4 separate regions of the Homo sapiens genome follow, and regions 1, 2 and 4 are each linked to region 3. The links are contacts of gene promoters, found by promoter capture Hi-C in blood cells and fetal thymus (Javierre and others, 2016). All regions are on one chromosome and are shown on one strand. Each heading gives the region's core, a stretch centred on a gene start or on the middle of the fragment in contact. The rest is flanking DNA. Distances are from core to core; before and after follow the strand shown.

The links. The method cuts DNA at HindIII sites, captures the fragments that hold promoters and counts their contacts. A CHiCAGO score of 5 or more calls a contact.
Region 1: a contact is called between the fragment with the promoter of PLOD3 here and the fragment with the promoter of SRRT in region 3, in 3 of 17 cell types (M0 macrophages, activated CD4 T cells and total CD4 T cells). The highest score is 7.8, in M0 macrophages.
Region 2: the fragment with the promoter of TSC22D4 here is called in contact with the fragment with the promoter of SRRT in region 3 in 1 of 17 cell types (total B cells); the score reaches 5.5 in total B cells.
Region 4: a contact is called between the fragment with the promoter of NAT16 here and the fragment with the promoter of SRRT in region 3, in 3 of 17 cell types (M0 macrophages, neutrophils and naive CD4 T cells). The highest score is 6.5, in M0 macrophages.

Annotation. Positions count from the first base shown.
Region 1 is chr7:101,215,695-101,219,342 of GRCh38, forward strand. It overlaps PLOD3 (procollagen-lysine,2-oxoglutarate 5-dioxygenase 3), which reads right to left and starts at 1,887. Exons shown (of 19, transcript NM_001084.5): 1 at 1,472-1,887; 2 at 1,001-1,092; 3 at 716-852; 4 at 469-632; 5 at 214-326. The coding sequence starts at 1,580. It overlaps ZNHIT1 (zinc finger HIT-type containing 1), which reads left to right and starts at 2,471. Exons shown (of 5, transcript NM_006349.3): 1 at 2,471-2,523. The coding sequence starts at 2,502. RefSeq lists enhancers at 993-1,515, 2,064-2,183, 2,277-2,818 and silencers at 1,314-1,433, 1,494-1,543, 1,684-1,963. The HindIII fragment of the contact is 13,473 bases long and covers 1-2,349 here.
Region 2 is chr7:100,477,442-100,481,056 of GRCh38, forward strand. TSC22D4 (TSC22 domain family member 4) reads right to left here and starts at 1,773. Exons shown (of 5, transcript NM_030935.5): 1 at 1,353-1,773; 2 at 1-866. The coding sequence starts at 597. TSC22D4-C7ORF61 (TSC22D4-C7orf61 readthrough) reads right to left here and starts at 1,773. Exons shown (of 6, transcript NM_001395846.1): 1 at 1,353-1,773; 2 at 1-866. The coding sequence starts at 597. RefSeq lists enhancers at 1,409-1,478, 2,179-2,288 and a silencer at 1,929-2,088. The HindIII fragment of the contact is 34,188 bases long and covers 1-3,615 here.
Region 3 is chr7:100,873,450-100,877,585 of GRCh38, forward strand. It overlaps SRRT (serrate, RNA effector molecule), which reads left to right and starts at 1,654. Exons shown (of 20, transcript NM_015908.6): 1 at 1,654-1,879; 2 at 2,124-2,263. The coding sequence starts at 2,142. It overlaps TRIP6 (thyroid hormone receptor interactor 6), which reads left to right. Exons shown (of 9, transcript NM_003302.3): 9 at 1-5. RefSeq lists enhancers at 539-1,203, 1,204-1,869, 1,446-1,495, 1,706-1,765 and a silencer at 1,906-2,135. The HindIII fragment of the contact is 10,507 bases long and covers 1-4,136 here.
Region 4 is chr7:101,178,275-101,182,044 of GRCh38, forward strand. NAT16 (N-acetyltransferase 16 (putative)) reads right to left here and starts at 2,019. Exons shown (of 4, transcript NM_198571.3): 1 at 1,768-2,019. RefSeq lists an enhancer at 1,800-2,522 and a silencer at 1,894-2,188. The HindIII fragment of the contact is 7,974 bases long and covers 1-3,770 here.

The sequences.
Region 1 (3,648 bases), core at 637-3,136, 340 kb after region 3:
CTCAACTATGTTGTCCAGGCTGGTCTTAAATTCCTGGACTCAAGCAATCCTCCTGCCTAAGCCTCCCAAAAGTCTTGGATGACAGGCGTGAGCCACCACGCCCAGGCACACATTTTTCTCTTTGCAACCCCCTTTGCTCCCCAAATCCCATTCAGCCTGAGGCCTCCACTCCCACAGAGCTGCGGGATGCGCCCACTCCTCTGCCTTCCCTACCCTCAGTCCTGGGTCCAGGTAGAGCCGTGTGTAGAACAGCTGGTCGTCGTCATCATCCTTGTACTTCCACTGGCGCACGATTTGGTGGATGGTGGTGGCAAAACCGATGAATCCTGGCGGGGAGGGGGAGTGTTGACCTCGAGACTCCCAGGGTCCCAGGGCCTGTCCCCCAGGCTGTCTCCAGCCCTCAGGCGCCTTTAACACTCTGTGTCCCACCGCTCTTGGCCCCTCTGCCTTGGGCACTCTGCCACTCACCACCAGAATTGAGGAAGCGCTTCCCCGTGCCCACCTCAGGGTACTGCTCCGCCAGCCCCCACTCGGGCCAGCAGAAGCTCTCTGCAGAGAAGAGCAGGCGGCTGCCACTCTGGACGAACTTCTTCAGCAGCTCTGTGGGGCTGCCGGCCAGAATCACGTCGTAGCTGGGTGAGGAAGGGGAGGATGGGCAGGGGTCCACTGGGAACCTCAGCATCCTTACCCCGCTCCCTATCCCCAGCCCCGTTACCTATCCACAAACATGATGATCATATCCTCCCGGTCAGCGTATTTCTCCATTTCCTTCTTTAACCACCGGACCTTCTGTCCTCCACCAACTGTTCGAGCCACATCACCCCCTCGCCACTCCTCTCCCAGGCCCAGGGTCTGTGGAGAAGATTGCCCCGTGCCAGGCAAGGGGTGGGGAGTTGTGGGGGGAACTCCTGACCAGGCTTACCGTGGGGACCTGGGCATCCAGACTTCAGCCCACCCCTCCTGCTGGGACCCCCTCCCAGGGGCCTTTCCCTCTCCTCACCCGCACAGTGTAGTTGAAGAACTCCGCAGAGCGCAGGAAACGCAGGTACCCCTCGGTTTCAGCTGTGGCCACAGTGATCACCAGCAGCTTCTCTGTTACCAGAGGGAAATGGCACTTGAGATCCACCGCCCAGCTCCGGGCCTCACGTGCTTTGCTGTCCTCCCTCTCACTCGACTTCCCTCCCTTTCTTCCTTCCCATTCTTAAACTCTTCTCACCCAGGAACACTCTGACCCCAAGGAGGGCAGGGTGGGAGTGGTGCCCAGGAATTCCGAGTCCCTTTGCATAGGGAGGCTGGAAACCCCAGTTCAGGGTAGTGATGGGCGAGGGGCTTGGCGCGACTCAGCCTCAAGAGCACGCTGGGCGGGGGACGGGCCAGACACCTCCTCGAGCCTCCGACCCTCTCCGGGCCAGGCTGGCAGGCACGCCAGCCTCTGCCCCCTCGGCCGTGCCGGGCCTCCCCGGGATCTCACCTGGGTTGACCGGGTCTCGGCCCCGGGGCCGGTCGGAGGCTGAGGCCGCAGGGGGCAGCAGCAGCGGCAGCAGCAGCAGGAACCGGGGTCCAGGCCCCGAGGAGGTCATGGTGGGGAGCGGGCCCAGACAGCACCCAGGATCCTGGGATCTCCGCTACGCGCCTGGATCCCAGCTCCGGAGGGGAGCTCTGGAAAGGGGGCGCTCGGGCTGCTGTGCGGCCGCCGCGGGGAGCAGCTTGGCTGGGGCTACGCCCTGAAAAAAAGGCGTATCCGGAGGCTACAGAAAGCTCCAGATGCCGGCGCCACAGACAAGGCGAGGATTGTCCCGGGCGCACGGGAGGCGGGGGAGGGGCGGCGGCTCGGGCCGGCGGGCGGGAGACAGGGACTCTGGGCTGAGCCAGCCGCTTGACACATGTGGAAGCTGAAACCTGGACAGGGGAAGTGACCCCTGGCGGAGGGTCGGGCGGGACGCGGGGGCGGGTCCTGGCCGCAGCCCTGCCCAGAGAGTGCGGGCGGAAGACGGGGAGAGCGAGAGGCTGGCGGCGACAGGGAGGGAGGAAGCCTAGGAGTCCGCCGCGGGACGGAGGCCTGGGGGAACTGGGAGTTCAGCTTTCTGCAGAGGGCCACTAGGAACCTCGGATTGCCCACGGAAGCCAGCCACTTTCTTTGACAGTCCAGCCCACCTCCTCTTCTGCCCGGAGAAGCTCCAGGGGCTGCCTTTGTGATCACAGCATCTTCACAAGGACCAAAGGAAAATAAGATTTCTTGTAAGAACACCGTGACCACATCTTTAAAATGACCCATTTCGTGGCTCCCACAAGATTTACACCTCCACACTGAGGCCGGAAGTGGTTTTGCCCCTATAAAACATGGCGAAAAGCTTTCTTGTCTCCAAGGAAACGCCACGTAATGAGTCAAAGCTGTGGCGCACGCGCAGAAGTACAAGCTACCGGAAGTGATGGCGCCCCTACTAAAGCCTTGGGGTTAGTACGCGTGCGCAGCAGTTTCTTCCGACAGTTGTGTTGTGCCAATGGTGGAGAAGAAAACTTCGGGTATGTGAGCCCCCGCGGTTCGCCCCCTTCCCCTTCCCAAGTCAGTCCTAGAATTTTCTTACCTAGTCATTCCTCTTTTTTGGTCTCGCTCTTTCGCCTAGGCTGGAGTGCAGTGGCATAGTCATAGCTCACTGCAGCCTCGATTTCCTGGGATCAAACCATCCTCCCACCTCAGCCTCCGGAGTGGCTGGAACTGCAAGCATGAGGCCCCACGCCTGGTTAATTTTTAATTTGTTATGTGGTGACGGGCTCTCGCTATGTTGCCCAGGTTGGTCTCCAACTCTTGGCCTCAAAGCGATCCTCCTGCGTGGGCCTTCCAAAGTGCTGGGATTACAGGCGTGAGCTGCCGCGCCCGGCCCCAGCTATTCCTCGTAAATCCCTTCCTCAGCCCTCGGGTCCTGGCGTTGACCCTTCATTCACGTTTTATTGGTGCCTGCTCCAAGCCGGGCGCTGGGGATGAAGAGGAGAAAGACCCCTCTTATCCAAGCATTGGCTTTTTCTGGAAGGGGGGCAGAAACGCAGACCTAACACTGTATTTTACTGTGATTTGTGATTTGTGCTATGGCAGAGGGAAGCACAGCGCCTGGGAACAGGGAGACGTGGCATCTAGCCCAGGTTCTGGGAGGCAGGGGACTGTGAAAGCTTGAAGGAAAAATGAAAAAGCTTGAATTGAGTCTTGAAAGTCTAGTTAGGGTTTCTCTCAGTGGGAACCTCACGTGCAAAGGCAGTGAAGCAAGAAAAAGCAAGTCGCTTAGGAAGCCAAGTTCACAGTTTGGATCTTACAGAGTAATAAGAAAGGATCGAAGGCTGGGGAAAGGTTACATTTTGAAAGGCATTATACACACTGCCCAGGAGTTTGAACTCTGTAGGGAAACACTGGAGAGCCAGCAAAGACTTTTTTTTTTTAGACAGAGTCTTGCTCTGTCACCCAGGCTGGAATGCAGTGGTTCTATATAACTCACTGCAGCCTCAACCTCCCATGCTCAAGTGATTCTTCCACCTCAGCCACCTGAGTAGGTGGAACTACAGGTGGGTGCAGGCCACCATGCTGGGCTAGTTTTTATATTTTTTGTTGAGATGGGTGTCTCACTATGTTGCCCAGGCTGGTCTTGAACTCCTGAGCTC
Region 2 (3,615 bases), core at 523-3,022, 400 kb before region 3:
CTCAGGCTCTGGGGGGCGCTGCTGGGGTGAGGAGGCCGACAGTGGGGGTTTCTCTGCCTTGGCTTTGCTGGGCACCACCAGCTGGCCCAGTCCCCCAGTGAAGGAGCGGGCCTGAGGTCCAGGAGAGGTGGGGGGTGGACGGAGCCAGGAGGTGGGGCCCTGAGACAGGCCTGACGGTGGGGTGGGGGCGCCCAGGCCGAGGCTGGCCAGCTCCAACCTGGAATCCAAAGATCTGCCCCCGGCGCCCCCTGAGGCCCCTCGAATTCCCTCCAGGAGTCCGCCGAAGCTGTGGGGCTCCAGGTCTCGCTCATAAACATCCACACACGTCCAGCGACCGCGGCGATAAGGCTCTCCCAGGCCGTGGGGCAGCTTCACCACCCGGAAACGGGAGGAAGGGGCCCCAGGTGGTGGGGAGCCATTCCGGGGGGTGCCCTTGCCCCCCGGATCGGGGCTGGGCTCCCCATTGGGCAGGCGGGGCGGGGGCCCGGTTGGGGGCTGTGGGGTAGGGGGATCCGAAGCCCCTGGGCTCCCAGGGCCCTCATAGTCCGTGGTGACGCTGGTGATTTGGAAACTACTCTTCTTCTTGCCCCCGCTCATGGTCCCTGGGGCTCAGGGCTGGGCCAAGGTTGGGGGTGGGTTGGGGCTCCTTGAAGGGGCTCAGGCACCCCTGGAACAAGGGGGCCACATGGCGGGGACATCCGAGCCCCTGGGGACGTCTGGGTCCGACATGGCAGGAGGGCCTGGCGGGAACCGGGGGTGCCTGCTGGGTGAGGGGAGAAGAGGAGAGGGGAGGTGGCGGGAGGGGGGAGCAGGGGCAGGTTTTTCCTGCTGCTGTTGCTGCTGAACTCCAGAGCTGAGTTTGCAAACTGGAAAAAGAGGGGGAGAGAGAGAGAGAGAGAGAGAGAGAGAGTGTGTGTGTGTGTGTGTGTGTGTGTGTGTGTGTGTGTGTGTGTGTGTGTGAAACCAGTGGGCAGGCCACCTCCGGGGCTTCCTCTCCGGGGAGCAGAGTGGGGGAAGGGGAAACCGTCAGAGACCCAGAGACAGGCAAGAGATGACAGAGACCAGGGCAGAGGGGACTGGATCCAAGAAGGCACTCAGAGTAGAAAGAGGCAGATGAGTCCCAGAGTTGGGCATTTCTCGCCTGGGATTCTGACTCAGGGGGCCCGTATTGTCCCAAGAGCTCGGACTCCAGGGCCTGGGAGAACCAGGCTGAAGCAGCTCCCCAGCCTGGCCCGGCCACTCAGAGAGACCTCTCCTGGGCCTCGAGCCCCCACCCTCACCCCAGCTCCCACATCTCTGGGGCAGGCCCTGCCCGGCTACCCCCCAGCGCCCCACCCAGCCCTGAACCCTACCTCTGGGGCCTCGGCCACTGATCTGAGCCTGAGGGTCCCGGCGCCTAAGAGGTCGGGCTGTCCGTTCCCTGGGGCCTCCTGGCCATGGGCAGTGGCGGGGCACGCAGGCGGCGATCAGAGGCTGTCCCGTCCTCTCCGGGGGCCGCGGCTCATCCTGCCAGGCATCTCCGAGGAAAGTTTGCTCTCCGGAAAAGAAGAAACCCGCGCCTCCTCCGAGGAGCCTAGGAGCGGCCTCTGAAGCCCCAAGGGTCTGGAGACTGATGTGGGAGGGGGCGGCCGAGCCCCCCTCTGCTCCCGGTGGCAGCCAGCGAGTGGGTGTCCCGAGTCTCCTCCCGCGTGACCCTGCTGGGTCCGTGTCTCCGCTCCTCGGCTCCCCTGGGTCTCTGCCTCTCCGTCTTTCTCTTTCTGGGCTGTTGACAACCCCCACACCAGGAAGTCCTGCCTCCTCGGGCCTGCTGACTGCTCCTCTCCTCCTCCTCCTCCTCCTTCCCCTCTTCCTCCCCTTCCTCCTCCCTCCCTCCCTCCTGGGGCTTCCCGCCAGCTGGCCCGGGGCCAGGCCTGCCACAGCCGCTGCTGTTGCAGTTGCTGCAGCCACTGCTTAGGCTGCTGCTCCTGGGGGCCCCAAACAGACTCCCTTAACCCCACACCTGCCGGGCCCTAGCCCCACTCTTGCAGGGAGGGGCTGCAGGGGGCGGGGCTCGGGGAGAAAGGGGAGGAGCTTGCAGGGAGGCGAGGGATTCCCTTACTTGTAGTCAATTGCTGCCATTGGCCTAGAGACACACAGAAGAGACGGAAGGCACAGGCCGGGAGGTGTGCTGCATGCCCACCCAGAAGTTCCCAGTCCCTGCTGTGGGGCAGCTGTGGCTGTTACTGTCATTCTCCTTTGGTTTTCACAGCAACTGCATTATTCCCCCCATTCCTTATTTTTAAAAGTGGATTATTGCCGGATCCCGGTGGTGGCTCATGCCTGTAATCTCCGCACTTTGGGAGGTCGAGGAAGGAGGATCGCTTGAGACCAGTTTGGACAATATAATAGCAAGACCCCATCTCTACAAAAAATAAAAAAAAATAGCTGGGCATGGTGATGTGCACCTATAATTCCAGCTACTCAAAGGTGGGAGGATCGCTTGAGCCCAGGAGTTCGTGACCAGCCTGGGCAATATAACGAGATCCCCATCTCTACAAAAAATTTAAAAAATTAGCACTTTGGGAGGCCGAGGCGGGCGGATCACGAGGTCAAGAGATTAAGACCATCCTGGCCAACATGGTGAAACCAAGTCTCTACTTAAAATACAAAAATTAGCCAGGTGTGGTGGCGGGCACCTGTAGTCCCAGCTACTCGGGAGGCTGAGGCAGGAGAATCACTTCAACCTGGGAGGCGGAGGTTGCAGTGAGTCGAGATCACGCCACTGCACTCCAGCCTGGTGACAGAGTGAGACTCCATCTTAAAAAAAAAAAAAAACTGAGTGTGGTGATGTATACCTGTAGTCCCAGCTACTCAGGAGGCTGTGAGGCAGGAGGATCTCTTGAGCCCAGGAGGTTGAGGATGCAGTGAGCCAAGATTGTGCCACTGCACTCCAGCCTGGGCAACAGAGTGAGACCATGTCTCAAAAAAAAAAAAAAAGTGGATTATTATGAAAATTTTCAAACATGCCATGCAGACATGGGGAGACCATGCAAACTCCACACAGATGGTGGTCCCAGCCCAAAATCAATTTTTAGAAAATCATCAATGTTATAATGAAATGACATTCAATGAAATGACATTGTGTGGGGGCCAGCTGTAGTTTGCTGGACTATTTGAAATCAGATCCTAGATGTTATACTATTCCCCTTTCCCCCAACCTGCCCCCGCCTTTTTTTTTAGAGACAGGGTCTCTCTCTCTCTCTGTTGCCCAGGATGGAGTGCAGTGGTGCGATCATAGCTCACCACAGCCTGGAACTCCTGGGCTCAAGCCATGCTCCTGCCTCAGCCTCCCAAGTAGCTGGGACCACAGACACACACTACTACGCCTGGCTAAATTTCTTTAAAAAAAAATTTTTTTTTTTGGTAGAGATGGGGATCTTGCAATGTTGCCCAGGGTGGTCTTGAACTCCCGGCCTCAAGTGATCCTCCTGCTTCTGCCTCCCTAGTAGCTGGGACCACAGGTGTATACCACCATACCTGGCTAATTTTTTAGTTTTTGTAGAGACAGGTTATTACTATGTTGCCCAGGCTGGTCTCGAATTCCTGGCCTCAAATGATACTTCCACCTGGGCCTCC
Region 3 (4,136 bases), core at 404-2,903:
AAACACTTCCAAGTCTGTTGTCTCATCTGATTCTCCCAGTAGCCCATTACAGGCCCAGTCATTGTTACTGCCTGCATTTTTTTTCTTTTTTTTTTGAGACGGAGTCTGGCTCTGTCACCCAGGCTGGAATGCAGTGGTGCCATCTCGGCTCACTGCAACCTCTGCCTCCCAGGTTCAAGTGATTCTCTTGCCTCAGCCTCTTGAGTAGCTGGGATTACAGGCGCCCGCCACCACGTCTGGCTAATTTTGTATTTTTAGTAGAGACGGGGTTTCACCACCTTGGTCAGGGTGGTCTTGAACTCCTGACCTCAAGTGATCTGCCCGCTTCACCCAACCAAAGTGCTGGGATTACAGGCGTGAGCCACCGCCCTTGGCCACTGTCTGCATTTTTACATGTGAGGATGTCAGAGCTGAGAGGTGACTCCCCCAGATTGCATGGTTCTTAAATGGTGGAACCTGGGTCTTTTTGACTCAGGTCCAGTTTTTTTTGACAACTCTTGTAATCCGTCACTACCCTCCTCTCAGTGCTGGGAGCAAGCACGCCTCAGGGAGGAGGCAAGATTTCCTCTATGTATCTATTTTGAGACAGGGCCTCACTCTGTTCCCCAGGCTAGAGTGCAGTGGTGCAATCAAGGCTCACTGCAGCCCTGAACTCCTGGGCTCAAACAGTCCTCCTGGCTTAGCCTCCCCAGTAGCTAGGACCACAGGGGCATCCCACCAAGCCCAGTTATTATTTTTTTGTGTGTAGATGGGATCTTGCTATGTTGCCCAGGCTAGTCCTGAACTCTTGGGCTTAAGTCCTCCCTCCTCGACCTTCCCAAGTGCTGGGATCACAGGTGTGAGCCAATGTGCCTGGCCCTAAATATTCTGTAAAGGGGCCTTGCTATGTTGCCCAGGCAGGTCTCCAACTCCTGGGCTCAAGTGATTCTCCCACGTCGGCCTCCCAAAGCGCTGGGATTGCAGGCGTGAGCCATCTCAGCTGGTCTTCCTATTAAGTCTCACACTCAATTCACTGAGAGGGGCCTTGGTGTTACTCCCGGGGGTGGTAATCCATTGAATCTGGGCGGTCCATACTCTGTTTAGGGCGTTAACTTACAGCCTATTTCATCCAAATACTGAGCGGGGTTAAGACTGAGATCTGCCAATTTTACTTAAAGACGGGGCGTCTTTGTCGAGGAAAAGCAGGAACGGCGGACTTTGCATTTAGTGCGCACTGTGGCACCCAATTTTGGCTGGATATTTGGAGCAGAAAATGGTGGGATACGATGCTTTAAAATGGTTGCTTCCACCTTCCATCCCCTAAGCGCCCGCGCTTCCCAAGCCCACGCCCTGCCCGAGGAGGGGACGAAATCACCCCCGGTGAGGTCAGGAGGCCCGTGGGGGGAACATGGCTGGATGAGAACCGTCTTAGGACCCCGACACATCTGGGGTCGCGCGATCCTCGACTTCCGCTCTCCCTTCGCGCCCAGAGGGCTTGTTCGCCTCCCGAGGCCGCGCTTGGCCCAGCCGAGGTCCCGTAGTTCCTAACGCTCGAGCCGTTATCGTCTCGAAAAGCCGCGCGAGACTTGCGAGATCCCCGCCCCTTTCCCATCACGCCCTGCTCTCCCCGCCCTTCGCGCTCGGTTTGTTAGTTCCAGTTCCGGCCGCGAGGGTGGAGCTTTGTGCCTCGGAGGCGTGGGTGACGCAGGCGCAGCGCGGGCTGCGCGCGCTACTGCCCATCCCCGGTTGTCCCACTTTTGTTCGCCTCTCTTCGGCCCTCTACTCAAGAGCTCCGTCTCCGTCTCGCCCTCCTCGAAGTCCTCGTCGCGCGCCCGCGACCCAGGTCGCCCTGAAATCTAGCCCGTCCGAGCGCGAGTCCAACGGCCGCGGCCGCACCAAGGTGGGGGAGGGGAGGAGCCTGGGGGGCCCCGCTGGGGCGGGAGAGGAACCGGGGTCCACGGGGGCGGGCGCGGAGAAACTCGGGGCGAGTGGAGGTGTTGGAGCCGCGTTCTCAGGCCTAGGATGGTGGGGGCCGCGGAGGGCTGGCCTTGGCGGGAGGGAAGCGGGCGAGCTGCCCGCGAGGGACGGTCCCTTCCTCCGCTCGTCCTTTTGCACCACTCCTACCGCCTCTCCCCGGTCCCCAGGCCCCCTCAGACCGTGCCATGGGTGACAGTGATGACGAGTACGATCGAAGGCGCAGGGACAAGTTCAGAAGAGAGCGCAGCGACTACGACCGTTCCCGCGAGAGAGATGAAAGACGTCGAGGGGACGATTGGAATGACAGGTGAGCCGTTTTTAACTTCATCTTGTCCCCGTTTCATGCCGTTTCACTCCACCCGCGTCGCTTTTCTTTCTCCCCCTTGTAATTTTTATGAGGGCGAATCCTATGAAATGGCTCATTGGACCGTTTTCTGTGGTTCAGCCTATTTGCTGTTGGCCAAATAACTAGCTGTGGCTTGGTTTTTGAAATTCTCTGCAGATCAGAGCTATAGAGCTAAGAGTTTGAGTATGAAGAAGCACTGTTTATACATGCACGAAAAGCGTGCTTTTTTGCTTTTTTTTGTTTTGTTATTGAGATGGGGTCTTGTTCTGCTGCCCTGGCTGGAGTGCATTGATGCAGTCGTAGCAGCCTCCACCTCCCGGGCTCAACCGAGCCTCCCGCCTCAGCCTCTTGAGAAGCTGGGACTCCAGGGGGAGGCCATCACGCCCGCCTAACTTTTAAAAATTATTATTGTTATTTCGAGACAGAGTCTTGCCCTGTCGCCCAGGCTGGAGTGCAATGGCGCAATCTTGGCTCACTGCAACCTTCGCCTCTGGGGTTCAAGTAATTCTCCTGCCTCAGCCTCCCGAGTAGCTGGGATTACAGGCACCTGCCACCACGCCCGTCTAATTTTTGTATTTTTAGTAGAGACGGGGTTTCACCATGTTGGCTAGGCTGGTTTGGAACTCTCGACTTTAGGTAATCCACCCAGCTCGACCTCCCAAAGTGCTGGGATTACAGGCATGAGCCAGTGCTTGGTCTAAAATTATTTTTTGTAGAGACAGCGTCTTGCTCTGTTGCCCAGGTTGTAAATTATATTTTAGGAGGATTGCTTCAGAAAAATAATAATATAGAGTTGATCTGACTGGAGAGGTCGTCAGATTATTTCCCTGACAATATATGATTAGGTTTCTTGTCACTGTTTTGCCTAAAATCTCAGAGTTCATAGGGCGGTGCTGATTGGATTGATTATAAGATGTGGTTATTGACCTTAGGGTGTTACAGTGAGCTTGGCATGGGGGATCAGAATGGCAGTGGATGTATTCTGTAAATGAGTATATATAGTGGAAGTTATAAAGAGGGTAAGCATTGAGGGAACAGATCTCTAAAGGAGGGGAGCGGTGCTGGAGGTTGTGTGTCAGGGACCCACTGGAAAGTGACACTTGGCTAGACTTGGAAAGATGAGTGGGAATTCCCCAGACACGAGTGACATGAACAGCTTGGAGTTGTGGACATAACGTGTGATTTTAGCATATTCTAGTTTGGTTAGAGTCCTGTTTCTCAGGATGTCCACAGACCATAGGGGGTCTCCGAGGCTAAAATTAGTTTTTGTGGTAATGTTTACATATTATTGCCATTTCCACTGTTGGTGCCATAGCAATGATGGGTAAAACCGCTGATGCTTTACCAAACATCAAGGCAGTGACAGCAAAGAGTTAAAAAAAAAAAGCCAGCCGGGCCCAGTGGCTCACACCTGAAATCCCAGCACTTTGGGAGGCCGAGACGGGCAGATCACGAGATCGAGAGATTGAGACCATCCTGGCCAACATTGTGAAACCCTGTCTCTACTAAAAATACAAAAGTTAGCCAGGCATGGTGGTGCGCGCCTGTAGTCCCAGCTACTTGGGAGGCTGAGACAGGAGAATTGCTTGAACCCAGGAGGCACAGGTTGTAGTGAGCTGAGATCACACCCCTGCACTCCGGCCTGGCGACAGAGCAAGACTCTGTCTCAAAAAAAAAAAAAAAAAAAAAAGCCACTTCCATCAATGATTCTTGATGAAAGAGTAAAACATTTAAATTTGATTAGATTGGACTCTTGACTGTACGTCTTTTTTAAAAAAATTTTTTTTTGACACAGAATCTTGCTCTGTCACCCAGGCTGGAGTGCAGTGGGGCG
Region 4 (3,770 bases), core at 769-3,268, 310 kb after region 3:
TCTACCCCTGTTCCATTTTGGGGGACATGAACAAAGGTTCCCAGGTCCTTAAACCTTGGAGGAGGCGAGTAATAAAACAGGTCAGCGACTCCAGGCCAAGCCAAAGCTGTGGGCTAGCCTGTAACCCTTGCTTCACATGGTGACCACTTCCTACCCTCCAGTCCAGCACCCTCCAGCCTGGCTCCGTGGAACTCTTAACTCTCATCAGATGTCTAGGCAGAGGCGGAGGCAGCTGGTGAGTCCAGGGCACTGTCAGAAATGTAGTCCAGGTATCTCCTGGACCAAGCGCCCTCCTAAAAGAGGGACAGCATTTCTTGGCCGGGCGTGGTGGCTCATGCCTATAATCCCACCACTTTGGGAAGCCAAGGGAGGCGGATCATCTGAGGTCAGGAGTTGGAGACCAGCCTGACCAACATGGAGAAACCCTCTCTCTACTAAAAAAAAAAAAAAAAAAAAAAAATACAAAAGTAGCCGGGCGTGCTGGCGCATTCCTGTAATCCCAGCTACTCAGGAGGCTGAGGCAGGAGAATCGCTTCAACCCGGGAGGCCGAGATTGTGGTGAGCCGAGATCACGCTATTGCACTCCAGCCTGGGCAACAAGAGTGAAACGCTGTCAAAAAAAAAAAAAAAAAAAAAGAGGAATAACATTTCTCTCTTCATGTCTATCCCCACATCCTTGGGGACATTCTTTAAATCTCATAAATATGAATGATCTCTTTGGGGAGGGGGTGATCAGAGTCATAGCTGGGCATGATCGGAGTCAGAGCTGGGAATGCCGGCAGCCCACCCACCCGCACCCCACTCCCACCACACCCCACACACCTGAAATATCGATGCCCTTGAGGCCGATGGCTTCTTGACACTGGGGGAGGGAGGAGAGGGAGGGAAGGGAGAGCCCAGTCGCCGGAGAGGCGGAGACAAAGAAGGCAGCTGCACAAAGCGCCCAAAGATGAGAGCGAAAAGGACGGGAATGGAGGCAGAGAGCAGACAAAAGCGGACAGGAGATGCGGCCGCAGGGGACAGGCAGGGAAGCCGGAGGAGGCTTCGACACCGAATCACAGACATGACACCTCGTGACTCTGGGCCCAGCAGATGAAAAAAAAAAAATCCTAGCACGCACCCCCTCCCCTGGGACACTGTAAATAGAAAGCAGCGTGACACACCCCCTTCGCCCCGGGGTATGGGGGGCGGGGATCCGTGGAGGGGAAGGGGTCAAGGGGAAAAGAAAGTCAGAAAAAAGGCCGTAAGAGAACAACCTTGGAAACAGAGACGGGGAGAGGCGATGAAGTGGGGGCGGGAGAGAAGGCCTAGGGGGTGGGCAGAGGCAGGGGCCGAGGAAGATGGCCCAGCCAAAGGGGGTGGGGGGAGGGCCCCAGAGGGCCACAGTAGTGGAGAAGGGGGGGCTGTCCTGCAGGGTCTTCCCGAGTGAGGGTCTTCCCTCTGCCTCTACCCCGGATTGGGGGCTTGGGCTTGGGGGAGAGGGAGATTGCAAAGGGAGCGATCTGCTTGGCGGGGGTTCCCCTGGGCGCCGGACCCTGGGGACAGGTGGGAGCGACATGGCAACAGAGGGGGGCGGGGGAGCGCTTCTGGACACCTGAAGCGCAGCCTCTGACTCAGTTTTCTGGGTCTTCGGACTGGGAGGGGCTGGGCAGAAGGGGGCGCAGCCGCTTGGTCCCCCTGAGGGGCGGTGGCCTTCTGCTGCCCCATTCTGCGGTGGAGGAGCACGCTAGCCCCCTCCCCAGTCCCCAGGCCCGGCCGCCCCCCTACCTCGCCGGAGCCGGAGCTGGAGCCAGGGCCGAGATGCCGCAAAGCCAAGCGGGGCGGGCGGCGGGCGCAGACACCCCCGGTGCCAAGAGAGAGGTCCCTTTGGAGCCCCCAAGAGTCAAAGGAGGATGACGCGCGGGGACTCGGCCGCGCTGTCGGAGCCCGACTCTAACGTCGGTCAGCGCTGGGGCAGCGCCGCAGCTCCGTTGGCGACGCGGGCCGGGGCGCCCATCGGTTCAGGGGTTCGGGTGGCACGCGTGGCTCCCCCGGCGACGCTCCGGCGGCAGCTTCGAGGGGCGGAGACCCCGGCGACGCGGAAGAAACCCGGGACGGATCCGGAGCGGACTCGTGCCCTGCTGGCGGGGCCGGGGGTCGGGGTGCGCCCTGGGCAGCTGGGTGGCCTCAAGCCCTACTGGCGAGACTCCGCCCTGTGTCCCGGCTGGGGAGTGGGACTGAGGATGGTGGTGTCTCGGGTTTTGGTGGTGGTGATGCTGGTGTTGCTGGCTTAGTTATCTCCCCACCCCACGCCCAGCACCTCCGTTCTCTGTCCGGGGGTCCCCCACTGCCCTGAAGTACCCCTCCTCCAGGAGCCACCCCTCAATGGAATCTCCTCTCTCCATTATAAGAGCGGCTGGGAAGGGGACTCCGAGCCTTCGTCCCCGGAAACTGATAGAGGGAATCAGAAACCCTAGAACACCGGGAAGGCGAAGAGACATCAAGAGACAGAAGTTGAAAGGCTGAAAAGGGCAGAGGGAGGCCAAGATCTCTCCATCTTCTCACCACTGCGTGGGTGCCTGAGCACCCTGGTTCCCCGGGTGCACAAGGCCCCTAAATCCACAATGTACCCCACGGGACAGCAGGCAGAAAGACCTCCAGGTACACAGCGCACACCCAGGCACATTCACACAGACCTCTGCACTCAGGAGGCGCTGCACCCCACGCTGATCCTGGTGGCTGGGGAGGAAGAGGGAAGTGTGGAGCTGGGACCCGGGTGGGTGCAGCGCTGCCCCTGCTCTAATAAGGCGGTGGCCCAGGCTCTTAACTCCTACAAGGTTCTCCATCCCACCTATAAAGTGAGCTCAAGACTGGGTGCGGTGGCTCAAGCCTGTGATCCCAGCACTTTGGGAGGCCGAGGCGGGGGAATCACTTGAGGTCAGGAGTTCGAGACCAGCCTGGCCAACATGGTGAAACCCCGTCTCTACTAAAAATACAACAATTAGCCTGGCCTGGCCGGGCACGGTGGCTCATGCCTGTAATCCCAGCACTCTGGGAGGCCGAGGTGGGAGGATCACCTGAGGTCAGGAGTTCAAGACCAGCATGGCCAACATGGCGAAACCCCGTTTCTACTAAAAATACAAAAATCAGCCGGGCACAGTGGCCTGCACCTGTAATCTCAGCTACTTGGGAGGCTGAGGCAGGAGAATCGCTTGAACCCGGGAGGCAGAGATTGCAATGCGCCGAGATCGTGCCACTGCACTCCAGCCTGCGCGGCAGAGCGAGAATCCAACTCAAAATAAAATAAAATAATAAATAAAGTGAGATCAGAACACCTTCAGTTCTACCCTGTAAGGAGCCAGGAAAGTGATGGACAAAGCCCTTTAGCAACTGTAAACTGCTTTGGAGATGCAGGGAATAATTTTTTTTTTTTTTTTTTGAGAGGAGTCTCACTCTCGCCTAGGCTGGAGTGCAGTGGCGCGATCTCGGCTCACTGCAAGCTCTGCCTCCCGGGTTCATGCCATTCTCCTGCCTCAGCCTCCCCAGTAACTGGGACTACAGACGCCCGCCACCACCCCCGGCTAATTTTTTGTATTTTTAGTAGAGACGGGGTTTCACCGTGTTAGCCAGGATGGTCTCGATCTCCTGACCTCGTGATCCGCCCGCCTCGGCCTCCCAAAGTGCTGGGATTACAGGCGTGGGCCACCGTGCCCGGCCGATGCAGGGAATAATGTTAAGGCCTTTCAAGGTCTGCTGGAGTCCTCTCTCCAGGGGCCGCCCAGCTCTCATGC